3 separate regions of the Homo sapiens genome follow, and all the other regions are linked to region 2. The links are contacts of gene promoters, found by promoter capture Hi-C in blood cells and fetal thymus (Javierre and others, 2016). All regions are on one chromosome and are shown on one strand. Each heading gives the region's core, a stretch centred on a gene start or on the middle of the fragment in contact. The rest is flanking DNA. Distances are from core to core; before and after follow the strand shown. Region 1 has its middle 18 kb from the start of GIMAP6. Region 2 holds the start of GIMAP4 (GTPase, IMAP family member 4). Region 3 has its middle 18 kb from the start of GIMAP7.

Region 1 (4,079 bases), core at 1,017-3,516, 47 kb before region 2:
GGACACAGCTAAAGCAGTGTTGAGGGAAATTTATAGCACAATGAATATTATTAAAACATAGATGACGGGTTGATAGGTGCACCATGGCACATGTATACCTATGTAACAAACCTGCACGTTCTGCACATGTATCCCAGAACTTAAACTATAATAAAAAACAAAATAAAATAAATTGAAAAAAGAAAATATCTTTTATAAATTTAATATAGTCTACATGTACAGTGTTTATAAAGTCTACAGTAGGGTACACTAATGTCCTAGGCCCTCACATTCACTCACCTGTCACTCACTGACTCATCCAGAGGAACTTTCAGTCCTTCAAGCTCCATTTATGGTAAGTGCCCTATACAGGTATACAATTTTTTATCTTTTATACCATATTTTATACTGTGCATTTTCTGTGTTTATGTGTGTTTAGATATACAAATACTTACCACTGTGTTACAATTGTCTGCAGTATTCAGTACAGCAACATTCTGTACAGATTTGTGGCCTAGGAGCAATAGGCTATACCCAACAGTAGGCTATGTAGCCTCGGTGTGTAGTAGGCAGTACCATGTACATTTGTGTATGTATGCTTTATGATTTCACACAACAATGAAACCACTTAATAATGCATTTCTCAGAAGGTATCCCTGTTAAGGGATACATGACTGTATTTTCACTGTCAGAGGAAAACTGCCTACTCAAGCCTCAGTAATGGCGGACGCCCCTCCCCCCAGCAAGTTCCATCATCCCAGGTCAACTTCAGATTGCTGGGCTGGCAGTGAGAATTTCAAGCCAGTGGCTTTTAGCCTGCTGTTCTCCAAGGGATTGGGACCTGCTGAGCGAGACCACTTGGCTCCCTGGCTTCAGCCCTCTCTAAAGGGGAGTGAACCATTCTGTCTCACTGGGGTTCCAGGTGCCACTGGGGTGTGAAAAAACACTCCTGCAGCTAGCTCTGTGTCTGCCCAAATAGTCACCCAGTTTTGTGCTGGAAACCCAGGGCCCTGGTGGTGTAGGCACACGAGGGAATCTCCTGGTCTGTGGATTGCAAAAACCATGGGAAATGTGTAGTTCTATCTGGGCCAAATAGCACAGTCCCTCACAACTTCCCTTGGCTGTGGGAGGGAGGCCCCTGGCTGCTTGGACGTCCTAGGTGAGGTGACGCTCACCCTCCATGGTGTTGGGAAAAGCTGAGTGTTGGGAGAAGCTGAGGCAGGGCTTACATGTCTGACACAATGTAAAAGAGTCTTGGAACCTGTCCAGGGTCCGGGGTCTAAAACCTCTCTTGGCCTTTGGAACACCAAGCTCTGTGCTAAAGGGTGGAAGCCTACCCTGATGCACCATAATGTAAGCGCAGGACATAAAACCCCTCATGGCCTCTGGAATGTGTCTAGACTTGCTGGCTCCTTGCTCCTTGCTCTGCCAGGATCGATTGTATCTTGAGTTAAAAGAACCTTCTCTCCATTATCTCAAGTAGCAGAGCATATGCTAAACTGTCATAGCTGTAAATCATGTGCTTAATGCAATGTTCCCTTTCAACCCCACATTCTCACCACCTGTTTCTTTGTTTGATCACCAATAAATAGTCTGGGCTTCCAGAGCTCAGGGCCTTCACAGCCTCCATTACTCACATTGGCGCCCTGGGCCCACTTTCTCTCTCAAACTGTCTTTACTCATTCCTTTGACTCCACCAGATTTTGTCACCCCCACCACCTGGTGTTGGGTCCAATCACCCCAACATTCCTGGCTGCCCAACTTGGGGTGACAAATACCCCAGTGAAGGAATGCTAGAGCATGTGAAAGTGGAGGATGCATCGTCAAAGGACACCTGAGGACCACTGAAAGAAGCTCGTCAGGAAAGCTGAGCACTTGGAAGAAACAGGGTAACAATGGGACAAAGTGAAAGCAAACATTCTGCTTACTTGAATTTCTTAAGGCACTTATTATGAAGAGGGTGAGACATGGGGTAAGACCCAGTGGAATCTGAGGCTTGTTTATTCAGAAGGCCCCATTTAGAGAAAAAGAAGACAAAGTGAGGACTTAGAAGGAGCCTGGGAAAGTAAAGTCATCTTGAAGCTTCAGTTTCACAGTTAACCTGCTTCTGCTGGAGAAAAACAGATTTAATGAGCACAGAGGCATGATATGGGACTGAATGTAAAGAAATTTGGACTCAAGGCCCCAAGGAATATTTGTTTGAGTTGTGGAATATGCTTGATTTTGGTATGTTAGTGATTTTCACAGCATTGTTCATTGCAAGATTCAGGGCGTTCTGGCATGCTTCCAAAGCCCAAAGCATCATTGATGCAAATGATACTTTGAAGGACTTGACAGAAGTAACACTGGGAGATAATGTGAAATACTACAATTTGGCCAGGAGGGAGTGGGTCCCCTCTGATCCTTGGGTGGTGTCTGAAGGTCTTTGTGCAGTTGCTGTGGTTTTGAGTTTCTCTGGGATAGCTTGTATTTTGCCAGCAAATGAAAGCTTTGGACCTCTGCAGACGTCACTTGGAGGAGCAGTCAAAGACATCTTCAGGTTCATGGTCATATTCATTATGGTGTTTGTGGCCTTTATGATTGGAATGTTCAACCTCTACTCCTACTACATTGGTGCAAAACAAAATGAAGCCTTCACAACGTTGAAGAGAGTTTTAAGACAATGTTCTGGGCTATATTTGGACTTTCTGAAGTGAAATCAGTGATCATCAACTATAACCACAAATTCATTGAAAACATTGGTTATGTTCTTTATGGAGTCTGTAATGTTACAATGGTCATTGTTTTGCTAAATATGTTAATTGCCATGATCAACAATTCGTTCCAGGAAATTGAGGATGATGCTGATGTGGGTCATAAAAAAGGTTTCCAGGAAGATGTAGAGATAAGTAAGTAGAGATAGACATAAATAGAGATATACATAAATAGAGATAGAGATAAATAGAGACAGAGATAGACATAACTAGAGATAGAGATAGAGGTAAATAGAGATAGAGATAAGTAAGTAGAGATAGAGATAAGTAGAGATAGGTAGGAAAATACAGGGACTTGCAGGAACTCACAGGAAATAACAGGTACCATAGGGACAGACAGGGACAGATACGGATAGATGAAGACCAGCAATATAAGGTCAGTACCCTAAAGAGGTATTGGTCAGTGCCCTAAAGAGGTACTGGTCAGTGAGGTACAAAAGCAAAGACTAGCAATATAAGGTTAGTGCCTTAAAGAGGTACTGGTCAGTGCCCTAAAGAGGTACAAAGGTAGAGACTAGCAAAGACAAGCAGAGATTTGCAGGGACAGACAAGAACATTCTGAATTATGGAAATTAGCTATGGCTCAAAGTCCAATCAAAATCTGAGAGGGCAAATATAAAAGGAATAGAGGGGAAGGAGGTAAGGATGAAAATGCTCTTTCTTTTCTCTCCAGCAGGACCTTTTGGATTCAAAGTCGTGCTAGCAATAGGAAATGTTACTCTTGATATAATACACACTTTATTACATGCCCTGATTGTTGCTTGTTTACCTGCATTAATTCAACCTTTGATGAAAATATAACTATCTTGATAATTAAAGCCAGGGAAGGAGTTTGATCCCTCTGTCTCTAAATAGACTATGGGAAACATCACCAAGTATTTATATTGTAACTGAGATCCTTAAAAAACTCTTATCCCGTTCCAAAAGATTTATAGTTGAAGGCCATTGGAGGCTCTACATTGTGGGTTTCTTTCTGGTTGTTGTGTGCTTGTGCTGTCTCCTTTTAGTCTGCAGATGCAGAAGCTGCCTCTGAAGAGGAAACCGCCTCTGAAGAGAAAGCTGCCATCAAGAACAAGCAATGATAGCTGTGGTGGTTTTATGAAAAAGAAAAGGGGGGTATGTTGGGAAAAGCTGAGTGTTGGGAAAAACTGAGGCAGGGCTTGCATGTCTGACATAATGTAAAAAAGTCTTGGAACCTGTCCAGGGTCCGGGGTCTGAAACCTCTCTTGGCCTTTGGAACACCAAGCTCTGTGCTAAAGGGTGGAAGGCTACCCTGATGCACCATAATCTAAGCCCAGGGGATAAAACCCCTCATGGCTTGGATAGAATCCAGGGCTCAGGGCATAA
Region 2 (4,239 bases), core at 1,478-3,977:
GAAAATGAGAAAAGAGGTTGGAAATATTTTTCTCCTGCTCAAATGGGGACTGGGTGGCAAGGCAGGAGAACCCCACCCCTATTCCCCCCCAAATCCCCCACCCCCACCTGCTAACCTCCCTGCAGCCTGGTCTGGGGAGCACTGAATGCCCTCTCACCATAACTGGCCCCTGGTGTGCTGGGGTTGAAGCTCATACTGCCGTATTGGGCTGCCATTGTCGCTTGAACTCCTGTAGATCAAGAAACATAACCATGTCATTTTAGGGAAATGGAAGCAACTAGAATCCCTGACTGCCTGTAGTCAACAACAACTTTCTTTTTGCCATGAGCTTGCTACATTGATTTCTCCTGCTCCATTTCCCAAAAGTCTCCTCAACCCTCCATTTTCAGTTTCATTTTCAGATTGTTCCTTTTTCTTTACACAAACATAAATGCTTCCAGTGCTTCCTCACAGGGGTTCTGGCCCCTTCCCCCCTCTATCTAGAGATTCGTGGCTTGGATGTGTTTATATGAGGTCTGTAGCCTACACCCTCCTCAGAGTTCCAAACTTTTATATCTCCCTCAGCTTATAAAAGTTCCAAACTTTTGTATCTCACTCCATTTGGCTATTTCATGGGCATCTCAAACAGAACCTGGCCGAAATTAAGCCCTGACCTCCACATCCTGTCTGCCTTCCTGGCTCCCCGCTCAGCAGATGGCACCAACATCTAGCCCCGTGGCTCCTGCAGAACTTTGGGGTCATCTACAACTCTTTTATCCTCTCTCTCTCATCAGCCCATCACCAAATCCTATTGATTCCACTTCCAAAAAACTCGAAATTACCCATTTCTCTCCATCTTTGTGCTAATACAACCCACTGTCAATTGTATACAACTTAACAGGCTTCTAATTGATCATCTCCCCTTCAATCCCTTTTCTACTCTACAATCAGATGTTCTTTTAAAACTAAAATTTGATATTTTTTCTTGTTTAAATTTCCTAGTGGCTTACTATTGGTTTCAAAATAACTGAAGTCCTCAGAATGGCCCATAGGCCCTGTGTGATCAGCTCTCTCCTCTCTCCTATGTGTGAGCCACACTACCCTCAATGTTCTGGAAATCTAGGCTCCTTCCACCTTCAAGGCCTTTGCAGTTATCATTCCTTCTCTTTGGAGCACTCACCCTCCAACCTAGTGCCCAGCTTGTTCCTGCTCAACCCGCAGGCCTCGGCTCTCCAGAGAGTCTTCCCCAACACCACTGTCTACCAGCAACACCCTCTGTTATGATCCACTGCACCCCAGAGGCTTCTTACAGAATATGTATTACTTTAGGAAGTTAATTGCTTGATTTTTTTACTGTCTCCTCTTATACTACAAGCTTTGTGATGAGAAGACCACATATGTCTTGTATTTCTCATTATTCCCTGGGGACAAGCACAATACTGGGCAAAGAATGGTTATCGATCATTGTTAAATAAATAAATGGATAATCTCCCTGCTTCTTGCCTTTGATTGATCATTATGTCCAGCCCACATCTGATCTGTGAAAATGACAATCCATTCCTTTATTAATTAATATGTAGTGTTATAGAAACATGGTATTAATTTTAAATGTTTTATTTCATTGCTACCTACAAACATTTTGCAATGGAGAAAGATATTTGAAGAACTCTTATTGGAGCAGACTTTGAACAAAACAGGCAGAAAATGGTAGTTGTTAAAGACAGAGTCACCTCATAGGAAGCCAACAAATATGAAACACTGTGAAAAGCCAGATATTTCTTTTGAATGACTATTTCTTTATCCTTCAAGAATAGGGTATAGGAAACAGCTTCTTGTAAACAAGAGAAATCATGGCATTTTTTAAAAATCAGCTTTGGTGGCTGGTGTTAGGAGAGAGGATAGGACACCAGCAAGAAGAAAACAATACTGTGACATTCTGGGTTTTTGTGACATTCTCTGGGTGTTTCTTCATATCCTCCTTCTAGTGTGTGGGCTCTTTAATGCTGCTCTGCTGTTAATAATTCAGAGGCAAAGCCAGGAGACTGTGCTTCTGTAGGTGCTGACTTCAGGTGGCTGAATTCTCCTCTCTCTGCCTAAGGAACAAGCACCCATCAGCATCCAGCTTCTCCTGAACTGTAGAGAGTCACACCAGGTGGCATCTCCCTCCTCCTACCCGCTAAAGGGGAGCTCAATGCCCAGTAAACCCAGGACTGTCCCTGAGGAGACAGTTTCCCTAACGGGCAGCTCCGAGCAGACAGTTAACCCTGTAACAAGACCTCAGACTGCAGAGCCTCCAATCCTGACCTGGGTGCAGTCTTTGTGGGGCCACATATGGAGCTGTGCCCCTTACACATCCCAATGTTCCTCTTCCCACCAGCTCCCCCAGAGCTAATTCTGTCCGCTCACCCAACTTTATCCCTGGAAGAATCAAAGTTTCTATATAAATTCCACAACCAGCGAGAGGAAACATTTATTTGTAAAACAAGTATCCTCTGAGCAGCAATCTCTGGAAGAGGCATTGATTTGTAGGGCTCAGCCTTGAAAACAGATCACAGCCTAAAATTAGCAAAGCCAGGAAACGGGAACCAGCGAGAATATAGTCTGAAAACATGTTTACCAGACGATTTAAGATACAGGTCCCTCCTCACCAAAATCGCACATTCGTCCCGACCCCCACCACACACACCCCTATTCCCTTACCTGAAAAATCAGGATCTTGCACCCCTCTCTGATTTTGCACACAATACTAAGCCAGGATGTTGAGAAACAGGAGAAGAGAGGAAGTGAGGGGAGGAGCTGTCCAGATTTACTTGTGCAAGGGACCTGCCCACCTGATCATCCAGCAGCTCTAATAGAACTTTCTGCAGGGATGGGGTTGTTCTGTGCTGTCCAAGATGGTGACCCTTAGCCACACGTGACTACTGAGCGCTTGAAATGTGACGAGTGTGATTGCAGTTCTGAATTTTAAATTTTATTTTGTTTCAATTTATTTAAAGTTAAATAGCTACTCCATTGTCAGAATTCTAAAAGGCAAAGTCAGGCAGAACAACTTGCACCAGGCATTTTCCCCAGAAGGAAAGAAGGAATATTCAGCTTGGTATGCCTGGTGGCTACCATACTGAACCTTGCAAAGGCTCTGCAGTGAGACAAAAAACATGGGTCATGCTGTGACATTCTGGAAGAAACTTCTGGGCCAAAACTAGAGAGTTATCAGTTATTCTGAAAGACCCTTGAGCCCCTGAACCCCTGCTCAGCACAACAGGCCTCCCAGCTAAGCCCCCATACCCCTTTCTCCCAGTACCTCAGGTATGTCCTCTGAGTCCACAGTGTGTCCTTATTTCCAGGGTATGTCCATGAGTCATCTGCTAGAAGCAAAAGAGAGTAAATGACTTTCACTGGACTGACTAGGATGGGCCCAAAATTCACCTCCTGAGATGGTCCTGGAACCACTGAAATATTCTAAACACTGACATCTGACACTACTTACCACTAAAATGGAAACTTTGAGAGTATTGTAATGGGGTCCCAGCTCACCGTTATAACCAGTTATTTTTCCATTGTAAAAGGGGTCTCAATTTACCATTATACCCCACAGCTGAGACCTTATTTAGAATTACATAGCACTTTAGTAATTATAAAATTGCTAATAATTCTAAAGAGAACTGTAAGAGAAAGACATACATTTCTTTGAGGATAGAATGTGATTGGCCCTGGGTATACAAGCACAGGATGGCTACACTAAAAAGCAGAACAAGGCAATGGAATACATCTTGCACCAACAGTAAGGATAATTTACATTCCAGAGCAACATGACTTAAATAACAAAGACCACTTGGTCCCTTGGTTTGACAGGCAAACGAAGGCAAGTCCAAAAGAACAGGCAGCATGAGAAAGCATCTCCGCGATTCTGAACTGAGATACCTTAAAAGACTAGGATTATATTTTGTTTCTGAAGCCTAAACCTGGCTAGAAGGTATATATTATTCTATTTAATTACAGAAATTGATGCAAAATATAGTATTTATTTTTAGTACTATTAAAGCACTGGATCATTACTTAGGGAATCTTTATTCAGGTTACAGGGATCACTGCAGTAGGAAAGTTCTCTGTTAGGGACTACATTTGCAGTGAGCACCACGTTTCATCTAATGCTTTAACAATAAAGCAATGTGTAGACAAAAATGTCTACATTAAAGATCCAGAAATGAAAACAATAATTTGTGATACCACATTAAAAATTTAGAAAAGGAACAGCAAATT
Region 3 (4,258 bases), core at 840-3,339, 35 kb after region 2:
CAAAGTGCGAGGTTAGATCCCTGTACATACCCCTAGGTAAGAGGCTGAATCCAAGGGACTGAGCAGTGACAGCCTGCAGGCCCCACTTCCATGGCACCTCACAGGATAAGACCCATTAGCTTGGAGTTCCAGCCAGCCACTGGTAGCAGCATTGCACTTCCCTGTGATGGAGCTCCCAGGAGAAGGGGCAGGCTGCCATCTTTCATCTTTGCTGTTTGAGCTACTTAGCCCCCAACCAAGTCTTCAGAATTTGGAGAGTCTTAGCTGACCACAGGCAGAAGGGACCCACCCAGAACAGCACAGCTGCTCTAACAAAATGTGGCTAAACTGCTTCTTTAAGTGGGTGCCCAATCCCATTCCTCTTCCCTGAGTAGGATCTCCCAACCAGGGCCTCTAGCCACCCCCATTAGTGTTCTCCAGCCAACAGAGATTTTAATTCTCTGGGATGAAGCTCTCAGCATGAAGGGTGGACCACCATCCTTGCTGTCTGGGCAACTTAGCTATTCCAGCGTTCAGGCTTTGAAGTGTCCAAGGCAACCAGGAGCTGAAGTGGATCCCCAGCACAGCTTAGCTGCTCTATGAAATCATGGCCAGACTGCTTTTTAAAGTGGGTCCCCAATCACATTTCTCCTTACTGGGTGGGACCTTTCTATCGGGGTCTCCAGCCACCTCCTACAGGTGTGTTCAGGCTAGCAACAGGCTTGAACAAGCTAGCAACAGGCTAGCAACAGGATGAAGCTCCCAGAGGGAAGGGCAGTTTGCCATCTTTGCTATTTGACAGGCTTCTCTGGTGTTACCTCCAGGTAAAATCCGAGGTAACTAGGGACTGGAGTGGGCCCCTAGCATACCGCAGAAGCCCTATGGAAAATTGGCCAGACTGTTATGTGGGTGGCCATTCCCATATCTCCTTACCAGACAGGTCCTCCAGGCTTGGCCTCCAGACACCCACCACCAGAGCTATCAAGCCAATAGCAACTCAGCAACTCCCTGGACAGAGCCTTCCAGGGCAACTGAAAATCTCTCTGCCACTGCCTCTGCAGTGGAACTGCCTTTGCCACCCGTGGACTAACATAGGAGCAAAGACCCTAAGTGCCTTATACACACCTCCAACAAGCTACATTTCATCCAAGAAGAGGAAGCCAGTCCAATTTCCATGGGTCCCCCACACCCCCATTGCTCATCACCAGACAGGGAATCCCTGGCTTGGGCCCTCCAGCACAGACCCTCCATCTTGGGCTAATTGCACTGAGCAACTGCTGACCTGCATCTTTCTGGGGTGGGGCCCCTGGGAGACAAGCAAAAGACCATTGTCCACAACCACTACTAAAGTTCTTCCTTTACTGACTCCAATTTGAGGAAGGAATGTAAACACTGAGATCACCCCAGAGCTGCAGTGGGCAGCCCAGGAGCACCAAACCATGATCTACAGCCAGCAGTCAAGAGAGAGAGAAACCAACACTTTCAGAGCATTGAGAGGGAACATGGCTGCAACTATGAGGAAACATAGGGGAGCCACACAACCAAGCAAGAGTCTACGAACTGACCAACAAACATAAGTGCCACCTGCTGGATCACACCCCAAAGCTTCAACACCAAAAATACCTCACTAACATACCCTCCTCTGAAACCAGAGACAAGAAGTCAGCTTCAAATAGAGACCCTGCACAAAGACTTGGCCCTGTGAAAACATCCATAAAAAGAAGTTTATTGATTGTATTCAATCTACACTGCAGTTAAAGGAACACCGACATGCAGAGATGAGAAAGAACCAACGCAAGAACTCCAGTAACTCAAGTGGCCAGATTGTCATATGTCCTCCAAATGGCACACCAGTTCTCCAACAAGGGTTCTTAACCAGGCTGAAATGGCTGGAATGACAGAAATAGAAGACAAAATATGGATAGAAACAAAAATCTTTGAGATTCAGAAGGATGGCAAAACCCAATCCAAGGAAAATAAGAATCACAATAAAGCAATACAGGAGCTGAAGGACAAAATAACCAGTATAAAAAAGAACCTAATGCATCTGACAGAGCTGAATAACATAATACAATAATATCATAAATATTAAAAGCAGAAGAAATCAAGCTGAGGAAAGAATCTCAGAACTTGAATACTGGTTCTCTGAAATAAGACAAAAAATAAAGAAAAAAGGCTAAAAATGAATGAATAAAGTGTCTGAGAATTATGAGATTATGTAAAGAGGGCAAATCCGATTGGCATTGCTTGAAAGGGAAGGGGAGAAAGCAAACAACTTGGAAAATATATTTCAGGATACTGTTTATGAAAACTTCCCCAACCTTGCTAGAGAGTCCAACAGTCAAATTCAGGAAATACAGAGAACTCCTGCAAGAATCTACATAAGAGGATCATCCCCAATACACATAACTGTCAGATTTTCCAAGGTTGAAATGAAAGAATGTTAAAGGCAGCTAGAGAGAAAGGGAAGCCACCTACAAAGGGAAACCCTTCAGGCTAACAGTGGGTCTCTCAGCTGAAACCCTCCAAGCCAGAAGAGATTTGGTGCCAATATTCAACACCCTTAAAGACAAAATCTTCAACCAAGAATTGCATATCCAGCCAAACTAAGCTTCCTAAGTGAAGGAGAAATAAGATCCTTTTCAGATAAGCAAATGTTGAGGGATCTCATTACCACCATTCCTGCCTTACAAGAGATCTTGAGATGAGCACTAAATATAGAAAAGAAAGACTGCTACCAGGTAATACAAAAACACACTTAAACACACAGACCACTATAAAGCAACCATAAAAACAAGCGAACATAATAACCAGCTAACAGCACAATGACAGGATTAAATACACATATATCAATACTAACCTTAATGTAAATGGACTAAATGCCCCCACTTAAAAGGCATAGAGTGACAAGCTGGATAAAGAAGCAAGACCCAATGATATGCTGATTCAAGAGACCCATCTCACATGTAATGACACTCATAGGCTCAAAATAAAGGGATAGAGGGAAATCTACCAAGCAAATTGAAAAGAGAAAAAAGCAGGAGCTGCAATCCTATTTTCAGGCAAAACAGATTTCTTTTTTTTTAGTGAGAAGAAAATGTTATTGACCTCAATTTAGAAGAAAAGAAGATGAAAAATAAGGAAAAAATATGGAATCTTTTATACCTGAGTTTTTATTAAGTAATGTTAAGCCTGGTCTACCTAAGAAAAAATATTTTGTAGAATTGCATATGTAAATAATCTCATTTAAATTATAATAACTAAATTTTTATTTGAGTCCAGGTTTGTTTTTTTTATTTTGCCTCTCTAGCATCAATTAGTTTAGCAAGGTACAAACTAACCAAATATGTATTTTTTTTTTTTTTTGCTTTAAGACAAAACAGATTTCAAACCAACAAAGATCAAAAAACACAAAGAAGGGAATTACATAAAGGTAAAGGGTTCAATTCAATAAGAATACCTAACTATCTGAAATATATATGCACCCAGCACAGGAGGACCCAGATTCATAAAGAAAATTCTTAGAGACCTACAAAGAGATATAGACTCTCACACAATAATAGTAGGAGAATTCAACACTCCACTAACAGTATTAGACAGATCATCAAGGCAGAAAATTAACAAAGATATTCAGGACCTCAACTCAACATTGGACCAAATGGATCTAATAGACATTTACAGAAGTCTCCACCCAAAGACGACAGAATATATATACACTCTTCTCATCACCACATGGCGCATACTCTAAAATGAACCACGTAATTGGACATAAAACAATCAACAAATGCAAAGGAGCTTAAATCATACCAAACACACTCATGGACCACAGCACAATAGGAATAGATGTCAAGACCAAGAAAATTGCTTAAATCCATGCAGTTAAACAACATGCTCTTGGATGACTTTTGGGTAAATAATGAAATTAAGGCAGAAATCAACAAGTTTTTTGAAAATAATGGGAACAAAGATACAAAATACCAGAATCTCTGGGGCACAGCTAAGGCAATGTTAAGGGGGAAATTTATAGCACTAAATGCCCACATTAAAAAGTTAGATCTCAGCTGGGCACTGTGCCTCATGCCTGTAATTTCAGCACTTTGGGAGGCCAAGATGGGCAGATTACAAGGTCAGGAGATCAAGACCATCCTGGCTAACACGGTGAAACACTGTCTCTACTAAAAATACAAAAATTAGCCAGGCATGGTGGCACACACCTGTAGTCCCAGCTGCTCAGAAAGTTTAGGCAGGAGAATCACTAGAACCCAGGAGCCGGAGGTTG

What was found. Contacts are between HindIII fragments. The CHiCAGO score rates a contact against its expected background, and 5 or more counts as called.
Region 1: a fragment that was not itself captured here is called in contact with the fragment with the promoter of GIMAP4 in region 2 in 2 of 17 cell types (non-activated CD4 T cells and activated CD4 T cells); the score reaches 8.7 in non-activated CD4 T cells.
Region 3: a contact is called between a fragment that was not itself captured here and the fragment with the promoter of GIMAP4 in region 2, in 2 of 17 cell types (non-activated CD4 T cells and activated CD4 T cells). The highest score is 8.2, in non-activated CD4 T cells.

The regions. Positions count from the first base shown.
Region 1 is chr7:150,612,821-150,616,899 of GRCh38, reverse strand. It overlaps the pseudogene TRPC6P3. Among named protein-coding and RNA genes, the nearest start is that of GIMAP6, 18 kb to the left of the region's middle. The HindIII fragment of the contact is 406 bases long and covers 2,064-2,469 here.
Region 2 is chr7:150,565,878-150,570,116 of GRCh38, reverse strand. It overlaps GIMAP4 (GTPase, IMAP family member 4), which reads right to left and starts at 2,727. Exons shown (of 3, transcript NM_018326.3): 1 at 2,680-2,727; 2 at 158-229. The coding sequence starts at 215. The HindIII fragment of the contact is 6,433 bases long and covers 1,357-4,239 here.
Region 3 is chr7:150,530,474-150,534,731 of GRCh38, reverse strand. No RefSeq gene overlaps it. Among named protein-coding and RNA genes, the nearest start is that of GIMAP7, 18 kb to the right of the region's middle. The HindIII fragment of the contact is 1,006 bases long and covers 1,587-2,592 here.